Linked DNA regions of Homo sapiens: region 2 is linked to region 1. Evidence: promoter capture Hi-C in 16 types of primary human blood cells and fetal thymus (Javierre and others, 2016). All regions are on one chromosome and are shown on one strand. The core of a region is centred on a gene start or on the middle of the fragment in contact, and the rest is flanking DNA. Distances in the headings are between cores, read along the strand shown. Region 1 holds the start of HECTD1 (HECT domain E3 ubiquitin protein ligase 1). Region 2 holds the start of KLHL28 (kelch like family member 28).

What was found. The method cuts DNA at HindIII sites, captures the fragments that hold promoters and counts their contacts. A CHiCAGO score of 5 or more calls a contact.
Region 2: a contact is called between the fragment with the promoter of KLHL28 here and the fragment with the promoter of HECTD1 in region 1, in 2 of 17 cell types (non-activated CD4 T cells and naive CD8 T cells). The highest score is 6.2, in non-activated CD4 T cells.

Annotation. Positions count from the first base shown.
Region 1 is chr14:31,205,979-31,209,240 of GRCh38, forward strand. It overlaps HECTD1 (HECT domain E3 ubiquitin protein ligase 1), which reads right to left and starts at 1,815. Exons shown (of 43, transcript NM_015382.4): 1 at 1,038-1,815. RefSeq lists enhancers at 707-1,220, 1,733-2,244, 2,222-2,391, 2,245-2,756 and silencers at 862-1,071, 1,192-1,401, 1,702-2,041. The HindIII fragment of the contact is 4,913 bases long and covers 289-3,262 here.
Region 2 is chr14:44,960,195-44,963,456 of GRCh38, forward strand. It overlaps KLHL28 (kelch like family member 28), which reads right to left and starts at 1,753. Exons shown (of 5, transcript NM_017658.5): 1 at 1,652-1,753. TOGARAM1 (TOG array regulator of axonemal microtubules 1) reads left to right here and starts at 1,996. Exons shown (of 20, transcript NM_001308120.2): 1 at 1,996-3,262. The coding sequence starts at 2,228. RefSeq lists enhancers at 820-909, 1,424-1,938, 1,480-2,289, 1,939-2,453. The HindIII fragment of the contact is 5,188 bases long and covers 1-2,628 here.

The DNA of each region.
Region 1 (3,262 bases), core at 565-3,064:
GAGAAAAGTCCTTTAAATTCCGGGACTGAACAGCTTGGGCTTAAATTTTTCTTCCTTTACATCTGCTAGAACCAAATTTTCATAGTGTCCTCCTAGCAATTAAAAAAGACTCCTAAGTACGTTTGGACGTAAGAGTGCTTAATGCAGTTTTTCAACTTTCCTTATCCGCCAGGTTTAACGTACAGATATCATACCAAATGAAAACCAGTTTTGCACAAGAGTATATAAGCTGATTAGGTTGCTGCTTAACTAGAAACCAGAGCTGTCTGTGTCAAAGACAGTCAGTCAAGCTTCAGGTCCCACTACTGCTATCACTAAAGTCTATGCCAAAAGGCAAAGAACACCTAACTAAAGGTTCTGTTTTTTCCAGCAAACTTCATCCCCCTCCTTCTCTACCCAAAACTGATCTTCAGATAAGGGTTAGATTCAGTATTTTGAGGAAACTCTAAACACCTTGATCCAATCCCCCTCCAAATTGTTTCTCCTTCAAAATTACCTCCAATTTCACATATTCTGCTGACTTCTCAATTTACTTCTATTTTAAAGATATCCAAATACAAACGACAATTATATACAAGATTTATCTATGAATAAAGAGTTGGTTAGGAATTTTGGCAGTCTTGGCAACTATTCTTAAAAGTTAAAAAAATAAAAAAATTAAAAAAGGAAAGGCTAAAAGTAAATGCAATGGACCAGCAGGTTACGGATCCGAACGAATGTAGGCCAACCTAGGGCCCTCTTTCCCCAGCTTCACAAGATAGGGCAGTTGGTTAAAAAAACAAAAACAAAACCGAGAAGCAACCCCAACAGGTAAGTCATTACAAAAGCGCCCCGTAAGCGCCCTGACTGGAGGACAGCTTTGGGTCCCACGTAACGCAGCCGCAAGTGTGGGAAGCCGGCGGCGGGGCGCGGTGGGCACCCAACGGCGGCGACCAGCGGGGTTGACCCCACACCCGGGGCCCGGCCGAGCCGGGCGCTGAGAGGCGCTGGCCCCCGCGCTGTGGTTCCCCAGCACCAAACCCCGCTAAGTTAACTACCTGTGTCTACGAGGAAGGGAAGTTCTGGAGAAGCAGCAGCAAGCCTTCGTGCCCGAGAGGAGGCCGCCGGGCCAGGCAGGGCGCCGGCTCTCCCGGGAGCTGCGCCCGGAACTCGAAGGCCTGGCAGCGAACCCTTCTCAAGGGCAAAAGGAGCCGGCCTGAGGCTCTGGCGCGGGCAACCGGGCCCCGCCGCCGGCAGGGCCCCGGGAGGGGAACAAAGGGGCCAGCGGGGAAGTCGGCAGCAGCCTGGCCGACCTCACTCGGCGCCGGGGTCTCGCTTTCCGCCACTCGCCGGGCGTCCGGGATCCGCGCCCCCACGCAGGGCCCTTCCGACGGTCCGAGGCGCTCCCGCCTCCCCTTCCCGCAGGCTCTTACTCGGGCTTGTCGTTCCAAACCGCTCCGATCCAGCTCCCAACAGGCCGCCGGCAGAGCCAGGCCCGGCCGCGGCCCTAGAGTTCCCAAGAAGCCGCAGGCCGCGCAGGTCGAACCGGGCAGGCGGCACAGGAAAAGCCGCGCCTCGTCCCTCCCCTTCCTCCGCGAGGACCTGGTGACAGGGAAGCGAGAGGTTCTCGCGTGCGGCAGCAGCCAGCGGACGTCCAGTCCCCAGCACGCGGCTCCTCAGGCCCTGCAACTCAGAGGCCCGCGCGGTGCTGCGGGCGACGGCGGCGGCGGCGCGGCGGGGAGGCCCAGTCCATCGCGAACCGGGAGGGGGAGGGGAGGAGGGTCGAGGGAGAGCCAGGCGGGGAAGCTGCCGAGGGCAGCCGAGCCCGGCGGAGGCGGAGCAAATCCACTCCCCCGGCGGCGACCCCGCCGGCGGCCACCTGGGGCGCTGCGGGACGGCCGACCGCCGCGCAGGGGCGCCAAACCGGGTACGCCGCGTCGCCGTCCCTGCCCCGGAGCTCTCGCCCCCGCCGCCTCGGGCTGTGTCGTACGTTTCTGCCGCGGCTTTTCTATGGTGCGCCCTGGCCCCCTTTTCGCTTCCCTGTCAGTCCGAGCGCGCTCATGCACGCACGTCCAGCTTGCTTGGCGCCGTGGCTAACACTTTGCGCGCTCCTGCGGAGGGCGTCGCACGGCACAGCACAGCAAAGCTGCGGCCCAACCTGTCCCCGCTGAGCCTTCCGCCCAGGCCACCCGCACTCAGCCACGATCTTCCCTCCTCGCGCACGGAAGTGCGTCGCGTAAGGAAGGCGTCTCCCCCCGCTCCTGGGAGGCCGACCGCCTGGCGGTTCACCCCAAAGAAAACCCTTCAGAGCAACCCTGGGAAAGAGGTGCTGCCGACGATTATCAACGTTGTACAGATGAGACACTGAGGCTCCAGGAAAGCGCAAATGCAGGCCCAGCGCCGTGCCCGGTCGGCAGCAGCACTGAGAGTGCACTTTTGACTACGTTTCTTGTGGCTTGTGGTCACAAGTATGTCTGTGGTTATTCTTTTCAAACTTTATTTCACACGCATTCAGAATAAAGGATGCATGCTTATAGGACGTAGTTGGAGCCCGGAGACGTCCTACTGTACTCTCACTTTCAGCTTTTAAACAAAAAGAAAAATTAATACGACATGATAGTGTTTGAGACATGGTCCCTCAGGCAACCAGAGGAGCTGCTAGGTATGAGTAAAGAACAGAATTTGGGTCCGCTGCGTTTCCTGTAATCCCAGCACTTTATGATTTTACTCTCTTGAGGCCCGGAGTTCGAGACCAGCCTGAGCAACATAGACCTGGTCTCTGCAAAAAAATTAAAATTTAAAAAATAATTACCCAGATGCGGTGACGCACACCTATGGTCCCAGCTACTGGAGCGGTTGAGATGGGATGATCCCTCGAGCCCAAGAAATTGAGGCTGCAGTGAGCTTTGATAATGCCACCTCACTCCAGCCTGGGCGACTAAGCAAATTTGTCATTTCCAAAATACTGGTTCTTTTTTTTCTTTCTTTTTTACTACTTCTTTAGAAAAAGAACCAGTATTTTGGAAATGACAAATTTGTACTTCAGATAGCTATCCGCGCATGTCCCGTTGTCGCAGGTAATGGTCCGTTTAGGTATCCTGTTAACGAAACAAGAGGAAAAAGAGGATTCAACTATTTTGTCCCAAGTACAACACATGAGGATAATTATTTAGATGTCATGAGTGTGAATTGGAGCTGCCAGGAAACTTCAAGAAGGAAGTGGCATTCCCTCTGGACCTTGAAGAATGGGTACAATGTAGACACTGAAAGGAAAGGGAAGAAC
Region 2 (3,262 bases), core at 503-3,002, about 14 Mb after region 1:
GAAAAGGGCATGATAACTGCTTAAGTATCCACGTCTCTCATTTAAGACTTTCGAAGTTCCTTTTCTGTGATTCCATGATTACCACACAACCTCTAGTTATTAACTTGGCTTCCCAAGTTCTTGGATACAAGAAAGAGTGCACTGGATTTTCAACTTGAAAATTCTGATCCAACATAAACTGGCACTGTAATGTGTACATCATTGTCTAGGTTAGTTTGAACTGGGTTCCTCAAGTCTGGGCAATACATGACTAGAAGTCTACACATTTGAGCTTCTTAGGTTGGAACTGTGAGAACCAGACACTTTCTCATTGACAACTGCTACAATCATTTCTTGTTTTTCACCTCCCTGTCTTTAACCTGTCCCTAAAATGAAACATGCTAGCTAAACCTAATTTAGGCAGATTCATTTAAACACGAAAATGGCTCATTAAAACCAAAGTAACAGCCTAGAATTTAAACCAAAACATAGGATGTATATTTACACAGCCTCATTTACATTATAGTCTATTCCCCACCCCCACCCCCCCAAAAACAAAACAAAACAAAACTGATATTCAAATCGTACTTTAAGGCAAAAATCCAGAAATTATTTTTGCACTTGCATCAGCTGGGAGCATTATTTATAAAGCTGTTTGGCATATGTGACTCATTTATTCCAAGACTTTAAAAAGTATTTAAGAGAAATCCCACCTGGTACAGAGCAGGGTAGGAATACTTGCATTTGAAGTGCATAAATTTGGGTCTTCAAATGATAACTTAGACTTTTCGCACGAGTCATTCAAAAGTAATAGTATTATTCCTTCAAAAAAAAAAAATATCTCTTCCACACTCCAAAGCATTCAGGCTCACACTAGACACTCCAGCTCTTCCACTGTGTCCGTTTAAGTATCACTTATGAGGAGAAAATGCACACAAAATTCTCAGTTCGCCTAAAATAAATAAATGTCTACTATCATTCCTAAATCCACAAGGCAGAATTCTCTTAGAACCATGATGCCAAGAACTTCCACCGCAAGTGAAATTGTCTTCGCAATCTCTGTCTCTAGGAGACTGAAAGGCTGCAGAGACGCTTGAGGATCCTGCAGGGAGGCTAGGGCGGCAGACGGAGGGGGCGGAGGTTAGGGGAGAGTCCCACAGAGGAACTGCATTAGAAGGAAAGATTTTGATAACGTCTAAGGGAGAGGCGGTTAGCTACAGGGGGAAAAAAACAGACCTATTTCCATATTATGTACGTTGTAAAGAAAACGCAAAGTGATGAGGGTAAGGAAACGTTGCCAAAAACAAACAAACAAAAACAAAAAAAAATTAACCCTCTGCGGCCGGAGGGTTAAGAGAAGTCGACAAAAGGAGAAGGGGGAGGCGAATAAAGGCCCCAAAGACCAGGAATTGAAAAAAAATACCCGATTTGTGAGCTTGGCCGTGGTCCAGATCTTCTGTCCTGATAAGCAGATGGCAAGAGGAAAGGATCGCAGTTACTCAGGGTGGTAGAGAGTAACGCGTTTACAAGGGTGACGAGCCCTGCACAAGAAGATGTCGCCTCTCTTTCCACCTGCTCCGCTCAGTCCTTTGCCTCTTACTCTAGCACCAGTGGCATTCGGGCAAAACACTGCCAAAGCCTGCACCGCTGGAGGACAGCAAAAGGAAAATACCTGAGTCTCAGTAATCACACGGGCAGCGACAGGAGGAGGAACCGCGGACAACTGGAGCCTGGGCTGGATCCTCACTAGCTCCGGTCAAACCCTAACTCTTACGGGTGGGGCGGGCAACTTCCGCCCAGAGCAAGGAAAGCGTCACATCCGTCAAATGGCTTCACCCCTCCTCCCTTCTCCGCTGTAGCTGCGTTTACAACGTTCTGACTTCCTCTTCCAGGAGACTTTGGCCTAGTCTCAACACCTGACGTGGACTACATAACCCAGCATTCATCACGGCAAGTGGATTTCCGGGTCAAGAGGTCCGCGCTGGGTACATCACCATGGAAGCAATCGGTTTGGTCACGTGGTGCCCTTGGTTACGCCCGGTGGCAGCTGTGGGGTCTAGGGCTCAGACGGGGGCCATTTTGCCAGAGGCTGCCTCCCGGAGTTGGGGGCGGCCTGGCGGCAGGCTGAAGCTGTTCTTTTGCCTCTTCTGCAGCTTGGGGCTTGGAGAGGATCTGGAAGTCTGGGCTCCATCGAGCCCTTTGGAGACGGCAATGGTTTCTTCCAACCACCACCACCTGACAACCCTGCATGGCGGCTGCCCCCTCCGCGCTGCTTCTGCTGCCGCCCTTTCCAGTCCTCTCTACCTATCGGCTCCAGAGCCGCAGTCGTCCTTCCGCCCCAGAGACCGATGATAGTCGAGTTGGGGGCATTATGAGAGGAGAGAAAAACTACTACTTCCGTGGAGCTGCGGGGGACCACGGTTCCTGCCCCACTACAACTTCGCCTCTGGCCTCGGCCCTCTTGATGCCCTCGGAGGCAGTCTCAAGCAGCTGGTCTGAGTCTGGAGGCGGTTTGTCAGGGGGAGATGAAGAGGACACTCGGCTCCTTCAACTCCTCCGCACTGCCCGGGATCCTTCTGAGGCCTTCCAGGCTTTGCAAGCTGCTTTGCCGCGGCGGGGCGGTCGACTTGGCTTCCCCCGACGCAAGGAAGCTTTGTATCGGGCACTGGGCCGAGTGCTTGTGGAAGGAGGTAGTGATGAGAAGCGGCTCTGCTTGCAACTTCTCTCGGACGTTCTCCGGGGTCAGGGGGAGGCAGGCCAGCTTGAAGAGGCCTTTAGCTTAGCACTTTTGCCTCAACTAGTTGTCTCGTTACGGGAAGAGAATCCAGCCCTGCGGAAAGATGCGCTGCAGATCCTTCATATATGTCTGAAACGTAGTCCTGGAGAGGTGCTGAGAACGCTTATACAACAAGGACTGGAAAGTACCGATGCCCGACTTAGAGCTTCCACAGCACTACTGCTTCCCATCTTGCTTACTACTGAGGACTTGTTGCTTGGTCTGGATCTCACCGAGGTGATAATATCCCTAGCCCGAAAGCTTGGTGATCAGGAGACAGAAGAAGAATCTGAGACAGCTTTCTCCGCACTTCAACAAATTGGGGAGCGACTTGGCCAAGACAGGTTTCAATCTTACATTTCTCGTCTGCCCTCTGCCCTGAGGAGACACTACAATCGCCGCCTGGAGTCCCAGTTTGGAAGTCAGGTTCCTTATTATTTGGAACTTGAAGCCTCTGGATTTCCTGAAGATCCCCTTCCCTGTGCAGTGACTCTTTCCAACAGCAAT